2 separate regions of the Homo sapiens genome follow, and region 1 is linked to region 2. Evidence: promoter capture Hi-C in human tissues and cell types (Jung and others, 2019). All regions are on one chromosome and are shown on one strand. Each heading gives the region's core, a stretch centred on a gene start or on the middle of the fragment in contact. The rest is flanking DNA. Distances are from core to core; before and after follow the strand shown.

The links. The method cuts DNA at HindIII sites, captures the fragments that hold promoters and counts their contacts. A contact is called where the count stands out against the background at its distance.
Region 1: a contact is called between a fragment that was not itself captured here and the fragment with the promoter of YARS2 in region 2, in 1 of the 25 tissues and cell types used here (H1 embryonic stem cells).

Annotation. Positions count from the first base shown.
Region 1 is chr12:33,407,308-33,411,261 of GRCh38, reverse strand. SYT10 (synaptotagmin 10) reads left to right here. Exons shown (of 7, transcript NM_198992.4): 3 at 3,906-3,954. Among named protein-coding and RNA genes, the nearest start is that of SYT10, 31 kb to the left of the region's middle. The HindIII fragment of the contact is 4,662 bases long and covers 1-3,954 here.
Region 2 is chr12:32,752,690-32,757,147 of GRCh38, reverse strand. It overlaps YARS2 (tyrosyl-tRNA synthetase 2), which reads left to right and starts at 1,251. Exons shown (of 5, transcript NM_001040436.3): 1 at 1,251-2,052; 2 at 3,063-3,230. The coding sequence starts at 1,274. RefSeq lists enhancers at 392-1,031, 1,236-1,465, 1,486-1,585, 1,032-1,671, 1,956-2,115 and 1 more. The HindIII fragment of the contact is 8,220 bases long and covers 1-4,458 here.

The sequences.
Region 1 (3,954 bases), core at 982-3,481, 650 kb before region 2:
ATATAAAAGCATATAAAATGATACTTTAATATTTTATATGGTTATTTAGTAGAATAATTGATTTTTGAAGTAATTTAATCAAATAGGATAACCATTAATATGACAGTATATATAGCATGGTGGTTAAGGGTGTGGCCACTAGACCCAGACTGCCTCAGTGAAATTTTAATTTTAGCACCTGCTTACCAGCAAGACTTTGAATGCATTACTCACTTCTCTGTGCCTCAGTGTCCTCATTTGGGAACATAATAGTAAGTACCTGATTGGGTTACATGAGGCTCAGTTGAATTGATAAAGAATTTATACCCATACCTGCAACATCGTAAGTACTCCTATGTTAGCTTTTACTGGCAACATCTGAAGAGCAAAGGCATCCTAACTTTTTATTGTGAAAATGTTTTAGTGTATATTTCTGTATTTTTTCCCATCTTTTATTATTATTTTTTATTTTCTTCCAAATTGTATTTGACATTATTTTTTTCATATTCTAATTCTTGGCATACTTTAGCACTAATCTGATATTAGAATATCATTTTTCCATAGACTTTCTCCTTTTATCCATATAATTCTCTGTGACAGCACACTAAAGCTTCTCATTCTTTGGGTGAAGCTGAGCAGAATGTGGAGGACGAGATCTTTCAAAAACACTGCAGTTTACTTTCACCTGTGACACCCTTCCACCACTTTACTAGTTTGAATCTTTAATTTGCAATATATGTATTGAACGATAGGTCCTTTAAACAAATGTCTGAGAAGTCTGTGAATAGTACAGTAGAAACAAGCAGAGCTACTGATACTCTCACAGCTCATTTCAGTTTGTCTTCCTTATCTGTATGAAAGGGGACCATAGAGAGAGGTTGAATTAGTTTCAATACAGCCCTAAGCACTTCTTATGGTGTTTTTTGAATTACTGCTCAACAGTTCAGTCCAGTTAAAGTAAATAAGCAAATTAAACGTAAGAGAATGAACTTGGCAACACCTTAGATTATAATTCTGATTTTAACAAATTCCATTCTATTAATGCACATAATATTGATACTGCGTTGTAAACATTTAGGCCCGTAAAATTACTGAAGGACTATAGAATGAAAGAGAATCACAGAATAAACTTAAGGTTAGAGAACACTTAATGTTTCCTGCCTCAAGTGAGATGCTAGACTTGCCAAAATCTTATGTGAGGCAGAAATATTTTTCTTCAGCATCTAACCTTTGTTCTACATTTCCAGCTTGAGGAAGTTCACTACTTCACTGTGTTGGATAGCTCTAGATTATTTTAAACGTTCCTTTATATTAAGCTAAAGTTTATCTTCCTGCACCTTCCATAAATTCCTAAATGCTGTCATGACAGTCCTTCGGGCATTAGAAGACAGCTAGCCTTAATCCATCTTTACCCTATTCTTCAACTTCTCCTTTCTAGGTTCAACATCCTCAGCTCCTGTCACTACTTCTCAAATGGTATTGTGGCCAGGCATCTCACTTATGGATGGTCACTAATTTGTAAACTCTTCTTTGAGATCAGGAGATCGAGACCATCCTGGCTAACATGGTGAAACCCCAGTCTCTACTAAAAATACCAAAAAATTAGCCGGGCGTGGTAGGGGGCGCCTGTAGTCCCAGCTACTCGGAAGACTGAGGGAGGAGAATGGCATGAACCTGGGAGGCGGAGCTCGCAGTGAGCCGAGATCACGCCACTGCACTCCAGCCTGGGCGGCAGAGTGAGACTCCGTCTCAAAAAAAAAAAAAGAAAAGAAATCAATGTTCTCACGCCTGTAATCCCAGCACTTTGGGAGGTGGAGGTGGGCAAATCACTTAAGGTCAGGAGTTTGAGACCAGCCTGGCCAACATGGTGAAACCCCATCTCTACCAAAAATACAAAAATTAGCCAGGTGCGGTGGTGGGAGCCTCTAATCTCAGCTACTTGGGAGCCTGAGGCAGGAGAATCGCCTCAACCTGGGAGGTTGAGGTTGCAGTAAGCCAAGATTGTGTCACTGCACTCCAGCCTGGGTGACAGAGTGAGAACCCATTTCGAAAAAAAAGAAATCGAGCTTCATGTGTGCATCAGTGAATCAAATATTAATCATGCAATGTCATCTATATTACTTAGTGCTGTAACAGGTGTAGACCTGCTGCAATAGACAACAGAAGTGAATAAAGTATTTTGAAATGAGTGTTCTGAGGGTGCACTGACTGGGTATTAAGTATAAGACAGAGCTGGAAGGAAAAAAAAAAGCCAGCTGAAGGTGACTAGAGAAAGCAAAATATATGGAGATAAGGATCTGGACTCCACAGCAATGGAAAAGGAGTGGAATGAACAACTATATGAGATGTTTCAAAGGAAAAGCAACAGGATTTAGAAAACTGAGTAAATCCTATGGGTAAAGGGAGAATGATTCAAAGCATACTTCATTCTTGGAAGCATGAGTGACTGATAAAAAATATTAGTGCTATTGTCAGAGATTGTGGGATAAAGAACCGATTTGCAAGCAAAAGGGAGAAAATGATGAGTTTGGTTGCATTTGGGGAGAAATGAAGACATCTGTTTAGAAATCTTCCTTAGAAATTTAGAGATACGGGACTAGAAGTTTATGTAGCTGGGATTTATCTGAGAAACCATCAGATTCAAGACAATAATTATAGTCCAAGAACTGATGATTAGTCTGATGAACAGACTGACAAGAAATATAACAAAAGACGTGGGACTAAGCTTTGAGGAGATGGGTAGTTTGGCACAGTTCGTGCCAGAAAGCATGGAGTAAGTATAAAAGCAGCAGATCTTTAATGCAAGTCACATGTAGAAGACATTAGTAAGCTTATATATTTAATATTCTGGAAATGTTGACTAGATGAGTAGTAATAGTGACTATAGGAAATTCAGTCTGAATTTTTAAAAACTTGTTTTGTTGGGCTCAAATTCTAAAATTCTACGTTTGTTTTTATCCTTAGAGTTTCTGAAGACCACAGCATGTTGAAAAAAAGAAAATGTACTCATTTTTGGCTGCCACAACTATATATTCTTTTTAAAAGTAAATATGTATTTAGTTAGATTAAGAATTAGAAACAACTCATTATAAGAAAATGTGGACCTATAACATGTTTTTAATTTTAATACTATAGTCACTAAAATGTGAAATTCATGAGACTCAAATATCCAGGTGAAAAGAAACCAGCCATCTGAATGATTTTGTCTGTATAATACTTACATCTAGATAGACCCAGATGACTGATAACATTCACAATTTTCTGTGGAATATTGAATTTTTTTGCTAATCATGTTTCTTTAGAATTGTTTTTAATTATGTGCTTATGATTGAGAGTACAAAATTTCAAAAGCATATGAAAATTAACATTGGCCAGCCACGTGTTGTGGCTCACTTGTGTTATCTCGGCACTTTGGGAGACTGAGGTGAGAGGATTGCGTGAGCCCAGAAGTTCAAGACCAGCCTGGGCAACATAGCAAGACTCTGTCTCTACAAAAAATTTAAAAATTAACTGGGCAGGTGTGGTGGCACATGCCTGTAGTCCCAGCTACTCAGGAGGCGGAGGCCAGAGGATGGCTTGAGCTCAGGAGTTTTAAGCTACAGTGAGCTATAATAGCACTACCGTACTCCAGCTAGGGTGACAGAACAAGATCCTGTCTCAAAAAACAAAAAACAAAACAAAACAAACAAACAAAAAGAACATTTAAGTGTTTCAGATGTTCTGGAATTTTAGGAGACTTCTCTTTGAATATTGTACTTCTTTATTTTTTCAAAAGTACCTCTTTGATTATATGTATGTGTCTATCTATGTAGATATAGATATCTTTTCACTATTCTGGGGGTGGGGAAGAGTTTATATGTCACTGTATAACATTCTCATCAAAATGATCTCCCTCAATGATTTTGTGTATATGTGTGTGTGTTCAGCCACAGTTCCTTCCGAAGACACCTGCCGAGGCAAATGCAGGTTTCCAGT
Region 2 (4,458 bases), core at 2-2,501:
ATAACTTTATAACGTTAAAAAATGGAAAAGTCCTGTAGGGAATGATTTGGAACATGGCCCAGATCCCAGTCACAGGACCAAGGCACTCAATCCCCCAGCTGCTGGGAGTGTTGGTTGCTTATTGCTCACAGCTGAGTCCCTTCCTGCACATCTCACTCTCCAAAAGCCTTAACCCAGCGTTTTGCTTCCTCCCCAGAAACATCCCACATTTAATGAGCAGTCAGTAAGAGGGTCTAAAGGTCTGCCCCCTGGCCTCAATTCAGGATGACTCTGAAAGGAAATCCCGGCTCCAGAGCCCTTACTGGATTGCCTGAGGCCTCTATTACAAATTGTTCACAGTTCAACTTCTTTCTCCCTCCGCCCAACCCGGCCTCCCTCACTCCATTATAGGTGTTGTTCTTAAGAGCACACTCCAATTACCCTCCTGCAAACCAGTCTCCCCCCCAACTCAGAGTCCAGGGAATTCTACCTAAGACGATTTTGAAAGCGGTCCTAGAAATCAGGCTCTAACATGGGATTTTGAAGCTAGATCACCTGCCAGCCAGCTGCCAATAAGAACCTCATCCCTGGTCAGTATTCAGAGCACCTGTCACGCTGCACGATGTGATTACTAACTTGAATCCACTCATGCTAAGCTGTGTCCCAACCTAGTTAACTGTATTTAAAATAAATAAACCACAGGACTTGATGCATGTACTTTATTGCACTGAGTTTTTCTTGCTATACCTTGGACAAGACTGCCACCTCCTGGAAGAGCCGATGAATACTGGGGACGAGGTGCAATTAGGGAATCGGTACTATGAAATTGCTTGCGTCTCAGCAGCAACTCCCTATCTCTCCGCGAACTTAAACCAATTCCTAACCTTTCTCAACCTCTGTGAACAGCTTTTTGCATGGAACCAAGACTTCAAAGAACTTGCGCATCACAATCTTTTTACGTGAAAATGTAAATACAAGTTAGCATTTGTGAAGCGTTATGTGCCAAATGCTTTAATTTTTAAGGCTCACAACAGCCTTATGAGGTAGGAACTATCATAAGCAGATCCACACTGCTGATGGAAAAATTAAGTTTAAGGGAACGTAAGGCGACGGCTCTGAGGCGGAATCGCCACTTGGAGTCGGGACTCAACTGCTGAGAGCGCAAGCTCCGTAACTACGTAACCGTCTCGGGCATGCGCAGAAAAACACTGAAGCACCTTCCCTAGGAGCTGTAAGTAGGTGGGTGTGGTGGGAGCCTCTGCAATCCCAGCATTCCCTTCGTGCCGCTACCAAGATGGCGGCGCCCATCTTGCGGTCCTTTTCCTGGGGCCGGTGGTCTGGTACCCTAAATCTCTCAGTATTGTTGCCCTTGGGGCTGCGTAAGGCCCACTCGGGCGCTCAGGGGTTACTGGCAGCGCAGAAGGCTCGAGGTCTGTTCAAGGACTTCTTCCCGGAGACGGGGACGAAAATAGAGCTCCCAGAGCTCTTCGACCGTGGCACGGCGAGTTTTCCCCAAACCATTTACTGTGGCTTCGACCCCACGGCAGACTCGCTTCATGTGGGTCATCTACTTGCGCTGCTGGGCCTGTTTCATTTGCAGCGAGCGGGCCACAACGTGATCGCGCTGGTGGGAGGCGCCACGGCGCGCCTGGGAGACCCGAGCGGCCGTACCAAGGAACGCGAGGCGCTGGAGACAGAGCGCGTGCGAGCCAACGCGCGAGCTCTGCGCCTAGGGCTTGAGGCCCTGGCGGCTAATCACCAGCAGCTTTTCACTGATGGGCGCTCCTGGGGCAGCTTCACTGTGCTGGACAACTCGGCCTGGTACCAGAAGCAGCACCTGGTGGACTTCCTGGCGGCAGTGGGGGGTCACTTCCGCATGGGGACGCTGCTGAGCCGGCAGAGCGTGCAGCTGCGGCTCAAGAGCCCCGAGGGCATGAGCTTGGCCGAGTTCTTTTACCAGGTGCTCCAGGCCTATGACTTCTATTACCTCTTCCAGCGTTATGGATGCAGGGTCCAGCTGGGCGGATCTGATCAACTAGGCAACATCATGTCCGGATATGAGTTCATCAACAAGTAAGTGCCTTTAAACCTTGGGGAAATCCTGGGACCAAATAATTTACACACTAGTAGCCTGTGATTCACTCTTAGGATTGTAGTTGCTGCCCTTCGTTCCAGCTCTTGTTGGTTTTATCCCCATTAAGGCTCTATAATGGCGTTAATAACACTGGCTAATAAGAATTAAAGGGCTGAATTAAGGGTATTAAGAGTAAACGGTGTATTCTAAAAATTAGCTGGGCGTGGTGATGCACGCCTGTAATCCCAGCTATTCGGGAGGCTGAGGCAGGAGAATCTCTTGAACCCGGGAGGCGAAGGTTTCAGTGAGCCGAGATCGCGCCACTGCACTCCAGCCTGGGGCAACAGAGGGAGACTCCGTCTCAAAAAAAAAAAAAAAAAAAAGGGAAACAGACCACTAGTGAAGATTTGGTCGGTCTGTTTTGCTTCGCCTAAGTCGTCCTCTCTAATTAGAGAAACTGCTTTTGTGTGTTTATACCAGAACGTGACTGGGCCTCCTTGAGTAGCTAGCCTCTGCTTTAGCTCTGCACCCTCCATGAAACTAGTGTTAGTCCTTGGTTGGTATCTCAAAAAGTTTTTTCAACTCCAAATAATTGACAAGTAATGCGGGTCTAATAGCATTTTCTTGAGAGAGGTGAAGGATAGGGCTAGCTCATGTGCAACAGAGCAAAGCACATGTTTAAAAGGCGTTTAGAAGATTTCCTTTAGTGTCTCTTCCTGACACCCCTTCACCCAGTTTTCTCCTTCCCACTCAGCCTTTCAAAATCTCTAGTCCATTGTTATGTAGCACTTCCCCTTGGCCTGCCTAGAACCTGCCTGGAACCACTCATGAGGTTCAGAATGAATAGAGTAAGTACTGTAACAATACATAAGAGGAACAAGAATTCAGATTTAGGAGGTCAAGGAAGTTTTCCTGGAGCAAGTAACCAGAAAGAAATCTGGAAGGTGAACAGTAGAACCTACCACCACTTGTGCTTGAGGCACATAATGAAATTGTTCTTTATGCGTAGGTTGACTGGAGAAGATGTATTTGGAATCACCGTTCCTCTAATTACAAGTACAACTGGAGCAAAGCTGGGAAAGTCTGCTGGCAACGCTGTTTGGCTAAACAGAGATAAGACATCTCCATTTGAATTGTATCAATTCTTTGTCAGGCAACCGGACGATTCAGTGGAAAGGTGAGTTCTGAATAATGGGCTGAGAAAAACTGACACCATAAACTCATGATGTAATTTTAGCCATTGAATCTATGTACATTTTATAGTTTTTTTGTTTTTAACGTAGTTTCTGTCTGTACATAAACCATTACATCATAGAAGACTAATTTTTACTGTGTTCTAAAGTTAAACACTTTGTTGGTTAAAGCAGAAAAACAGTGGGTGGCTAGAAAATGTAGAGCCAACTTTTTGATCTGTATCTAGCAAGTTCTTAGGATTTTATCACCTGCATATTCTAGTTTTTTCACTCCTTTCAACTTAACCTTGACTACCCTTATTTTTCCTTTGTCTCTCTTCTCTCACAAATATGACTTTAAAGATCCTCTTAAGAAATGATTTCTCCTTAAATCAAATTGCCTTAAACTCTTGGAAGAATATGAATTAATGAGAAACAAATATACCTGCAACAAAAAGTGAAAAAAATATTTTGATGCTCTGTAACATCAAAGTAATCTAGGAATAATTCTTTAAGACTTAAAAGGTATATGACTTTCCTGCAAAATATTAAAAGATGCTATTGAGCAAAATAAAGACCTACATAAATGGAGAGTTAGACCATATTCATAGTACAAAAATAATATCAGTTCTTTTTTGTATTTTTTGAAACAGAATCTCACTCCCATTGCCCAGGCTAGAGTGTAGTGACGCAGTCTTGGCTCACTGTAGCCTGAAATTCCCAGGCTCAGGTGCACACCACCATGCCCAGCTAATTTTGTATTTTTTTTTTAGTAATGGTGGAGTTTCACCTTGTTCCCCAGGCTGGTCTCAGACTCCTGGACTCAAGCGATAAACCTGCCTCAGACTCCCAAAGTGCTGGGATTACAGCATGAGCCCCCGCACCCGGCCAAGATACCAGTTCTGGATTTGATCTACATTTAGTACAGTGCCAACCATATCTAAACCGGCTTTTTGTGGAACTTGACAAGCTCATTGTAACACTGACATAGAAATAAAAAGGGCTAAGATTGGCCAAGATGTTTTTGAAGAACAGAGTGGAAGATTATCATGCCTTATTACAAAATTTTGGTAATTGTGTTTTTTTCTCTTTAGATTTAGTCCTAGAATGTTTGACGATATAGTCCTGGGGTTTTGATGTATTGAGAATTGATAATCTTTTTTTTTTTTTTTTTTTTTTTTTGAGGCAGTGTCTCACTTTGTTGCCCAGGCTAGAGTGTAGTGGCATGATCTT